Linked DNA regions of Homo sapiens: region 2 is linked to region 1. The links are contacts of gene promoters, found by promoter capture Hi-C in blood cells and fetal thymus (Javierre and others, 2016). All regions are on one chromosome and are shown on one strand. The core of a region is centred on a gene start or on the middle of the fragment in contact, and the rest is flanking DNA. Distances in the headings are between cores, read along the strand shown. Region 1 holds the start of TUT1 (terminal uridylyl transferase 1, U6 snRNA-specific). Region 2 holds the start of SCGB1A1 (secretoglobin family 1A member 1).

What was found. The method cuts DNA at HindIII sites, captures the fragments that hold promoters and counts their contacts. A CHiCAGO score of 5 or more calls a contact.
Region 2: a contact is called between the fragment with the promoter of SCGB1A1 here and the fragment with the promoter of TUT1 in region 1, in 5 of 17 cell types (endothelial precursors, monocytes, erythroblasts and 2 more). The highest score is 7.0, in endothelial precursors.

Annotation. Positions count from the first base shown.
Region 1 is chr11:62,589,955-62,595,509 of GRCh38, forward strand. TUT1 (terminal uridylyl transferase 1, U6 snRNA-specific) reads right to left here and starts at 1,569. Exons shown (of 9, transcript NM_022830.3): 1 at 1,450-1,569. The coding sequence starts at 1,531. MTA2 (metastasis associated 1 family member 2) reads right to left here. Exons shown (of 18, transcript NM_004739.4): 14 at 5,310-5,538; 15 at 5,027-5,116; 16 at 4,562-4,680; 17 at 4,305-4,453; 18 at 3,260-4,086. The coding sequence ends at 3,921. RefSeq lists enhancers at 1,379-2,074, 1,491-1,720. The HindIII fragment of the contact is 7,198 bases long and covers 1-5,134 here.
Region 2 is chr11:62,415,811-62,421,170 of GRCh38, forward strand. It overlaps SCGB1A1 (secretoglobin family 1A member 1), which reads left to right and starts at 3,223. Exons shown (of 3, transcript NM_003357.5): 1 at 3,223-3,340. The coding sequence starts at 3,286. It overlaps LOC102723765 (a long non-coding RNA gene), which reads right to left. Exons shown (of 4, transcript XR_007062699.1): 2 at 895-1,040. RefSeq lists a silencer at 2,247-2,541. The HindIII fragment of the contact is 29,364 bases long and covers 1-4,172 here.

The DNA of each region.
Region 1 (5,555 bases), core at 319-2,818:
CACACACAGGTATTATTCAGATATATCACTTGGCAGAGAGAGTCTGGTACACGGTAAATGTTGAAAAACTAACCGTTGCTATTATTTTATTGAGTTAGCTGCTTGATGTCACCAAAGTAAATGTGGGGCCAAAGAAGACTCCTAGGTTTCTGGCTTGGCTTACTGGATGAACAGTGATAGTGCCATTCACAGTGAAAAGGAAGAATGGAAGTAAACCCTGTTTAGGGAACACTGTGATTCCAGACTTCAAAAGTAGGGCTGGGCACATTGGCTCACGCCTGTAATCCCAGCACTTTGGGAGGCCAAGATGGGAAGATCGCTTGAGGCCAGGAATTGGAGACCAGCCTAGGCAACATGGTGAAAACCCATCTCTACAAAAAACTAAAAAATTTGCCAAGTAGGCCGGGCGCGGTGGCTCAGGCCTGTAATCCCGGCACTTTGGGAGGCCGAGGCGGGCGGGTCACGAGGTCAGGAGATCGAGACCATCCTGACTAACATGGTGAAACCTCGTCTCTACTAAAAAATACAAAAAATTAGCCGGGCGTGGTGGCGGGTGCCTGTAGTCCCGGCTACACGGGAGGCTGAGGCAGGAGAATGGGGTGAACCCAGGAGGTGGAGCTTGCAGTGAGCCAAGATCGTGCCACTGCACTCCAGCCTGGGTGACAGAGTGAGACTCTGTCTCAAAAAAAAAAAAAAAAGAAAAAAGAAATTAGCCAAGTATGGTGGTGCACACCTGTAGACTCAACTACTTGGGAGGCTAGCCAGGGGTATGGTTTGAGCCCGGGAGGTTGAGGCTGCAGTGAGCCAAGATCACACCACCGCACTGCAGCCTGGGTGACAGAGCAAGACCTTGTCTCAAAAAAAAAAAAAAAGTGGAATTTGAAGTTACAGTGAACCCCTTGTGTGTCATACAAGAACCTTGTCTATTTTTCCAAACCCATCTTCTGTCTCTTCCTCACTGGTACCTTATGGTCTAGTCATTCATGCCACACCTATTTCATCCATCCCCTCCTTTGAGTAGGTCCTCTGTAGGGCTTCTCTGATTTAGTTACTAATTCTCTGTGGTCCCACAGTTCTCCGAACATATCTATAAAGCATTGAAACTTTCTCATTCTCTAGACGGTGAGCTCCTTCATCTCTGAACCCCCCTCCCCCACCCTAAAGATCAGCAGAATACCAGGCACAGAGCATATGTCCAATAGATGATGGTTAAAGAAGTAATAAAACAATTAAACTTGCGTTGTGGAGATTTCATATACTGAGGAGTGTAATGTGGTGGAACTTTCCCGACTCTCCAAATCCCCTCGGACTTGCAGAGAAAAACGGAGGTGAGAGACCCTACCAATCAACTTGACAAGAACGACTGACTACCTATAACCCTAACTTTCGCCAGGATCAAAAGACGAAAGCCCGCAACCACCCCCGGGTCCCTCACTAGCCACCGCTTACGGTTGGCTGTAGTAACGTGGCAGAGGCAGCAGCGGAACCCCCCACGCGGCAGCGATTCGACATCCGAATCCACCGCCGCCATAGCGACTCTCCTGTACCGACAAAAACACAAGCACCTCTGCCACCACCGGAACCCACTTCGCCAAAGCTCAACGCGCTCGGAAGCAACTTCCGCCGATCCGATAGGAAGTGACATAAAGTCGTTCAATTGCGCGGACACACTCCTCCGGAAACCAAGCTCCTTCGACTCTGGGTTCCGTTTCTAGCCGCTGTCCAGTCCCCGCCCGTTTCAGGAAAAGCGGCGCGTTACGATGCTTATCTGCATGCGGTAAGCCGATTGGTGTGCTTTAAGCTGTTCAGACGTTGATTGGCCCAAAGCATCGTGAATATTCATGACAGCAGCCACAAAGGCCGGCGCCGGGTGGCATCTTGCGGCAGCTCCTTCACCCCGCAGTAGACACCCGTGCGTCTGTACCCTCGACCCTTATTTACCCGACGAATAAAGGCGGAGGATCGGCGGCTTCCAATTCTTTGCCCCACGGAGCCCAGGGCTGTCCCTGGACTTCCAACCTTTTCAGGGCTGTTACTCCCTCCCTCCGCCCCCTGTCCTCCCGCAAAACGGGTGTTCTGCGACGGCTTCTAGCCCTGGTTGGGGAGCTCTGCCACCACCGGGCACCTTCCGGACTCCACGAGGTCCTGGAGCCAGGCCCATTCCTTCCGCAGTAGTGGGCTGCGTGGTGTACGCCGGAGGCGCCAGAGCTACTGGCGCACCTCAGAGCAGTGCGACAAGACAAAACCGAGTGCCAGTAACTGAGTTTAGACACTGGAGGGGGCGAATGCTGTCAACCCCCTCCTGGTATAATTGTCAGTTCATCCCAACGCCGCCGAGGTGTAGGCTCAGGACAGGGAGGGACTACGGGGAGCTGGGGATGCCCTAGGGACAGGGACCATAACGAGGTGGAGAGAACTATCAGATGGGCTCAGCAGCTTGTGCTGTGGTTATCAGCCCACAGCTTTGAATGGCGCAAAGAGCAGTGGACCTAAGGCAGACACCAAGGTCTTTGACCTTGAACAAGTCACAACTGTTGAGGCCGTTTCCCATCTCTAAAGGAAGTGCCCAAGGAGCACACAGCAGGCTGAACTTCTTGTTCTCTATCCTAAGGTGTTCCTTCTAATGGGCCCAGCTCAGGCATCTAATCTCAGTGTCCCAAACCTTTAAGGCAGGAAACAGTGCTACAGTGGATCGGGATATCATCGAGACTGGCCTTGAGGATCCTGAAGCAGCAGGCTGTACACATACACCCAGAGGTGCTAGGGTGGTTCAGTGGTAGAATTCTCGTCTGCCAAATACACCACACAGCTAGGTGAGGGGATCCTCCTATAACCCCACCACCACCCCCAAGGGGGTATACATGTTACCCTGGCTGCTAGCAACTTCCAGAATTCCTTAAACAAAAGGGAGAGGGGAGTAAGAGGTGGGAAACAGAGGAAGAAACACCCCCATTCCCCTTTCCTATGGAGGCCACCAGTCATCCAGAAAGCTCATCTCAACTCCTTTGAATGAATCTGGGCCAAGATGGTTCTTGAGCTCCAGCACCACTGGGAGCTGGGGAGCAGTTTGGGTCCCACAAGAAGCCTAGCTGGAGCAAGCCGCCTGGGTCCAGGCTGCCTATCTCATAAAGCTGTTCCCAGGGCAAGAACCATCTGTACCTCCTTTGTTGTCCTTTGTCCTTTATTTTCCCTCTCAAAGACACCCCCAACACACACACAACACACACCCATGGCAAAGAACAGCTGAGCCAGGAGAAGCTGAAGAAAACAGCTTTTTATTTGTTACTATAAGAACCAATTACAGAATCCGAGGTTAAAAAAACGGACAAAAGATCTTTATTTCTGAGAACTGGCGTACAAAAGGCAGAGGGGGAGGGGAGGGAAGGAAAGAGCGAGCGTGGCCTGGGGTTGATGCCAGCTTAGGGGCCTCAAACTCCAATTAGGAAAGTCCGGACACCGGACAGAAAGAGAAACCCCCAATTAGGAAAAAAAAAAAAAAAAAAAAAAAAAAAGACATGGCAGTGCACGCCCCCCTCCCCCAACCAGGTACCACCACCTGTTATCTGTTTACTCTTCCCCTCCCCATCCCCTTTCACAAAGGGAGGCAAAATTTTTAAAAAATTAAAAAACCCTCCCCCCAAAACTGTCCAAGACATCTGTGGGTCCTACCCCCCAAAACAGGCTAGGTTCCCACATGGGCCAAGTTCCTGCAGTCTGTCCTCCATCGGCAAGCATGGAGGCATGAGACAAGTCTCGAGGTGGTAACACCAGAGGGCGCCCAACCCCTCCAGGGACACACACTCACTTGCTCTCTTCCTTAATTCACTCCTCACTCCCTTCGACACGAAAGGGAAGGGAGGTTTGGGTGCCCTGGGCATCCACCCTCTACCTCTCAGCCCACCTCCCTTCCCCACAGGTGCTCAGTCCTCCAGGACAATAGGCTCATTGGTGCTGGCAGGATGTGAGGGTGCAGGTAGAGGGACAGGGGGCCGCACTGCAATCAGCGTTGGCTTCACCTTCAGGGGCAAGTTGGGTCGGCGAGCAGCTCGCCGCATTTCCAGATGGGTCAGAGCCTTCCGTAGGGCCCTGGCCAGAAAGAGCAAGTGGGAAACAGAAAAGGCTTAGAGAACATTAAGACCTCCAGGTGAAGCCCCACACTGCAATTATGCCTTCTGGCCCATTCTTTTCTGGCATCCCCACCCTGCATCCACAACTTTCCTGGAGCTCTTGCTCTGATACTCCTACTCCCCACACTCACCAGCCTGGACTGTCCCTCTCAGCCCCTCCCATGGTAGACGCCTTACCTGGTATCCTTTGTGGCCACAAACACCACAGGATTGGGGGCATCAGCTGGGTTTAGTTTCTGACGCTTGGCTGCTGGCTGTGAGCTTGAACGAATCCCTGAAGCCAGAGGCCTTCCATTGGCAGAGAAAGGAACCCCTGCCCCTGCCATCTGGAAAAGGGGTAGGATGGCACAATGAGGGAAGGGACCCTCTCAGACTCCTATGAGAGACAAAAGCCCACCCAACTCAATCTGGCCCACCCCTTTCTGTCAACTCACAGTCTCATAGGCCCGTTTCACCATAATGCCCCCCAGTCCCCGGTTCTGGGACAGCTGGTTTCTGTTGATCGGTGTCTTGGTACCCCGAGGTGTTTTTGGTTTCAGGGGTGCCTGGGCCACTGGAAAAAAACAGAAAACTTTCGCACCTTTTCTTCCCACGCAGTTCCCCTTTGTTACTTCCATCTCTCTTCCCTGGACCAGCAGTTTACCTGGGCATCCCCAAAAGTAGCAATGGGGGAATGTTCTGGCAAGCTATCACTAGTATTTCAAATATCAGTATGACCTTATCAAATCAGTACAGTAATACTGAATAGTTTACAAAAAAAATTATTAAACAACAAAAGTACAGTTTGTTAGACTAAATCTCTGAGGACACTATGAGGAAGAAAAAAAGCAAGGGGAGAGATGTCAGACAGGGAAAGGACTGGGAGCCTGATGCCAACCTCACTGGTCCCCATCCCATACCCAGATCTTTGACGATAGTTGCCAGGGGCAGCCGCACCAGAGGGTGAATCTTCAATGGAGTCTTGGCGGCCTTAGGAAGTCGAATGGAGCCTGGAGAACAAAGAAGAAAGCTTCTGAAGGGCTTCACCATTCAGGTCTCCTCTAAGGCCAGAAGCCAACTCTAATCTTAAAAAAATTATCTGTGGCCTACTATCCCTCCTGTTATTAGACATCCAGAGAAACAACGGTCTCTGGGCAGAGCAATCCGAAACCCACCACCAGTCCCACCACTCCCTGCCCTTACACTCTGCTTTGATGGCATTGGCATTGATAGGAGCATAAGGCCGTCGGGCGGCCCTCCTTGGCTGTAATAGGTCCCTGCACATGCGTCTGGCAAGACGGGTCAGCTTTGTGGTCTGAAGCAGGAAAGTTTGTCTGTTCTTAGCCAGTAGCTTGGCCCTGTTGGCGCTGGTTGTGTAAGGAGAGAGACTTTGAGCTTCAGGTCTGGATAAATGACCCCTTGAGTGTGGCTCCTAGAAGAAGAGCATAG
Region 2 (5,360 bases), core at 1,973-4,472, 170 kb before region 1:
CAGGCTGGAGTGCAATGGTGTGATCTCGGCTCACTGCAACCTCCACCTCCTGGGCTCAAGTGATTCTCCTGCCTCAGCCTCCCAAGTAGCTGGGATTACAAGCACCTGCCACCACGCCCGGCTAATTTTTGTATTTTTAGTAGAGAGGGGGTTTCACCATGTTGGCCAGGCTGGTCTCAAACTCTCGACGACCTCAGTTGATCTGCCCTCCTCAGCCTCCCAAAGTGCTGGGGTTACAGGCAGGCTACACCTTTCAACAGTCCCTAAGAGGGGAGGGATGCAGACACCTGAAATCCTCAAGATGGGCTAACCTCAAGAGCCCAGATGATGGGACACAGAAGGAAACTTAAAAGAAAGAAGGCACTTCTGAGATGCTTTATGCAAATACAAGCAAATGCATATGTGGATTCTTTTTGCTTTTTTTTGAGACGGAGTCATGCTCTGTCACCAGGCTGGAGGTGCAGTGGCATGATCTCGGCTCACTGCAACCTCTGCCTCCTGGGCTCAAGTGATTCTCGTGCCTCAGCCTCCCGAGTAGCTGGGATTACAGGCAAGCGCCACCATACCCAGCTTTTTGTATTTTTTTAGTAGAGACGGGGTTTCACTATGTTGGCCAGGATGGTCTCAATCTGACCTTGTGATCCACCCGCCTCAGCCTCCCAAAGTGCTGGGATTACAGGCGTGAGCCACCGCGCCCAGCCTTCTCTTTGTTCTTTTTTGCTCTATTCATGCCTTGTTTTTCCCCCTTTGCAGTCTGCCTTGGAGATCATTTCACCATCAGCTCAGAAGATCTTCTTTCTCTGTTTTCAGCCACACAGCGTTTCATTGTAAGGACACACCATAACGTACTTGACAAGTCTTTGTTGGTTGCTAGTTTAGAACGTGTGCTCTTACCGGTGTTAAGGCGTCTCGGAGTGGGACGGTTCCGGGGTCACCACAGCCTTCAACTGTCACATGGCACAAAGGCCTCATGCATGGATTCATTCCAGGGATTCCTGTTTAGCAAGCGTTGCGTACCTTGGCTTACAGCGGCCTCAGCCCTAAAGGAGGTCAGTCAAGTAAAGGAGTCATACAAGAAAATAAGAATTGCAAAGTTAAAATATTGTATAATGGGCCCTGTAAGCAGAGGGGGAAGAGAGGCCCATGGGGAGAGTCACCACCCATCAGAACCACCTGTCGGGGAAGGCTTCACTCCCTATTTTCACCCCCAACCCTATTTTTCCCAAGTCTTCTCTGTGTCAGGAAATAACACCCCATTCCCCCAGCTGCCCAAGTCAGGGTCAGTTCATCAGGAAAGGGATATCAGACCATGTCACTCCCTGATTAAAACCTTCAAGAGCTTCCCACTCTGAGTGTAAAGGCCTTAGAACGAGGCCTTGTGTGCTCTGGCCCCTGAATGCCCCCTTTGCAGGCACAGCAACCCTTTCGAAGCCCTCAGGCACAATGGGGTCCTTCTTTTTTTTTTTTTTTTCTGAGACGGAGTTTTGCTCTTGTTGCCCAGGCTGGAGTGCAATGGCGTGATCTCAGCTCACCGCAATCTATGACTCCCAGATTCAAGCAATTCTCCTGCCTCAGCCTCCCAAGTAGCTGGGATTACAGGTGCCCACCACCACATCCAGCTAATTTTTGTATTTTTAGTAGAGACGGGGTTTCATCATGTCAGCCAGGCTGGTCTCAAACTCCTGACCTTAGGTGATCCACCTGCCTCAGCCTCCCAAAGTCCTGGGATTACAGGCATGAGCCACCCTGTCTGGCCTTTTATTTGTTTATTTATTTTTATTTATTTATTTATTTTTGAGGAGTTCTTGAAGTGCCACGCAATGCCTCTCCATGTCTATCTACCCCAGTTCCCGACTCCTAGCACCACATCTGGCACATCATAGGTGGTCAGCATTTATTGGATGAATGAATGGATCAATATTTGATTGAGTCTTGAAGTACGAATAGAATTTGGCGAAGTGGACAAGGCAGGAAATGTGTATTCAGGCATGAGGCTTAGCTTGTGCATAGGTAGAAAGGCATGAAAAAACATGGAACATTCTCGAATCCACAAATAGTAAGAGAGGGCTAAGTCGTTGTGTGGGGGAGAGGAGAAATGAAGTTCAAATGGTAGGCAAAGGTCAGTGGGCAAGGGCCTTGTAAATTGCACTTGAATTTTATTCTTTAGGCAAAAGGAAGAGTTTAAGGGTTTCAAGAAGAAGGACACGACCAGTGGGTTTTAGGAAGATCATTCTGATGGCCTTTCAGAGGATGGCTGAGGAGAGCTAGCAGGGAGGCAGGGAGGTCGAGTCAGGGGATTTTGACCAGGCCAGGTTAGGTGCTATGAGGCCCGGGCTTTGGAGAAGAACCAGGAAATGGCAACTGGAGGCAAGAAAGGGGAGAAGGCCAAAGCCTGGGAACCATCAACACTTAAGAACAGTAAAGAATAAACATCTAAAGAGAACAAGAAGGAATGGCCAGAAGAAGGAAAACAGGAAAGAACTGAGGCGTGGGAGCGCAAGAGAGAGAATGGTTCGAGAAGGAAGCAGTCACAGGTGTCAAGGCCATTGGGAGGTCAAGTGAGATAAGGACTGAAGGTCCCACCAATTGGGCCATCAGGAGCACAGGACTTGAGAGCACTTCTGGGTGGGAACAGACCCAGCCTGGGGCAGGGCTCAGGTTTCTGATGGGAATTCTGGAAGGGTCCCTTTTATTCAACATGCTTCAATCCAGGGGCCCCCGAAGTCTGACCACAGCAATGCTCCAAACCATGTGTCTTTCCTGGCTTAAGGTTCAGTCGCCCTCCTCAGAGGGGAGCCTATGAAAGAGCCCAGTGGAGTGTCAGGGTCCTGAGTCCTAGTCCTAGTCCTGTCCCTGCCACTTGTGAGGGAACTTGGGCCTCAGTTTCTCCAGGTGGGCTCCACAATTGCTTCTCTTGATCTGGACTGCCCCAGTGCCCAGGTTCAGTGAGTGACACAGGCAGCTGGGTTTCCACATCCTCTGACTTGGGTTCCCTTCACTGCCTCCAGGCAGGGCTCGGCCCTCCACCCCCAAGTGGCCCATTGTGTGAGCTCAGTTTCAGTGGGGACAGAAACTGGGTTGAGAAAAGGGAATATTTACCTATCCCACCAAGCCAATGCCAAGTAAATAGTGCAGTATCTTATGTAGAGCCCTTGCCCTGCCCTTCCCCATCTGGGTGCTGCTGCCTAGAGCATATAAAAGGCACCTTGCTGGGCATGTCTCATACTAGCCCACCAGACTCAGAGACGGAACCAGAGACGGGCCAGAGCATCCCCCTCCTCCACCATGAAACTCGCTGTCACCCTCACCCTGGTCACACTGGCTCTCTGCTGCAGCTCCGGTGAGTGCTCAGAGACCCTTCCCTCCCTCCTGGACTTAGGAACTCTCAGGACCCCCCAGTTCTGCTCAGAAGAAGGAGTGAGCTGCCCATTCCTGCTCTGGAGCTGCTGGGAGGACCTGGGCATGCTGAGTCTCAGAAAACTGGGTCTGGTGAGCAAGCTCATCTTGGAAACTTGGAGAGAGCCCCAGGCTGTAAGGAAGCCTAAAAAGGGTCCCATCTTCTATATCCAACAACCCTCAGAATCCCAGGGAATGGAATAGCCTGGAGGGAGGAGTGGAGAATACCCCATAAAGATGAGTACATCCAGCATAGGAATAATGAGGCCCTCATCCCAGATCTGGACAGACTCCAAGATGCTGAGACCTTGGTGCAGCCTCCAAGTCTGGGGTCTCCACTCCATGCTGGCAGCTGAAGTCACTGGAAGGGGAGCTGCAGGGACTCGTGACCCCAAAAGAAACCCAACCCAAGACAAGGTCTCTCATTCTGGGCACAGAGGAATATTCCAGAAAGAGAGCTTCCCTTTGGGGAACTGCCAACCCAGAGTGAAGTTTTCTAAACATTTCCGTCCTCTGCAAAAGGGATTAGGAGTCTCTGAGTAGTTGCTGCTGTCACTAAAAGGAAAAGAACTGTGGGGGGAAGAGGGGCAGAAAGAGAGACGGAGAGAGGGGGAGAAAGGAAGGAAAGAAGGATCACAGCTCTCTCCAAGATCCCCCGTCTTTGGGGAACTGGGTTATCTAACTCTGTTTTTCACTCTGCGTCAGCCTCTTCCATTCTCATCTGAAAATGCTGTTGTTATTTTTTAATAAACAAACTCCAATTAATTCACTTGGAAAGCTTCACAACACCCATGGAGATAAGTTTTATGACCCTGGGGAGTTAGAAAACCCAAACCAAGAAGCAGTAGGAACAACTATTTTGCAGAGAGGTTTATTTGTTTTTCAGAGAAAATGACATCATTTTGGACTGAAATGTGTATTAATTAGAAGATCTCAGTGCTGTCTGCGTACAGAGGTGGGTGGCTGAGCAAGATAGGACTGCAACATGTTAAGGGGTGGGTCAGAGATGCATTTGTCTATTTGTGTGCACATGCATACAATATTTAACACTTACTTCACACAATGTGCCAATCACTGTCACCCTTTCACATAATATCTCTTTTCATTCTTTTTTTTTTTTTTTTTTGAGACAGAGTCTCGCTCTGTTGCCAGGCTGGAGTGCAGTGGCGCGATCTCAGCTCACTGCAACCTCCGCCTCCCGGGTTCAAGCGATTCTCCTGCCTCAGCCTCCCAAGTAGGTGGGATTACAGGCACGCACCACTGCACCCAGCTAATTTTTGTATTTTTAGTAGAGACAGGGTTTCACCATGTTGGCCAGGATGGTCTCCATCTCTTGACCTCGTGATCCACCCACCTAGGCCTCCCAAAGTGCTGGGATTAGGCGTGAGCCACCATGCCTGGCCTCTCTTTTTATTCTTACAACAACCCTATGAAGTAGGGATATTGGGCCAGGCACGGTGGCTCACGCCTGTAATCCCAGCAATTTGGGAGGCCGAGGTGGGTAGATCACTTGAGGTCAGGAGTTCAGGACCAACCTGGCCAACATGGTGAAACCTTGTCTCTATTAAAAATACAAAAATTAGCCAGGCATGGTGGCGCATGCCTGTAGTCCCAGCTACTTGGGAGGCCGAGGCAGGAGAATCACTTGAACCTGGGAGGCAGAGGTTGCAGTCAGCCGAGATGGCATCACTGCACTCCAGCCTGGGCAATAGAGCGAGACTCCGTCTGAAAACAAATAAATAAATAAAAATAAAATTTAAATTAAATTAAAATTTAAAAAATAAAAAATAAAATGAAGTAGGGATATTGTTCCCATTTTACAGATGAGAAAACTGAGCTACAGAAACACAGAGTGACTTGCCTGGTGACACAGTAAGTTACACATCAAGGACCTAAGTTCTGGAGAGGGTCTGACTTGGAGTGGCAATTTCTAGTGAGGCCCTAGAGTCAGAGGAGGGAAGGCA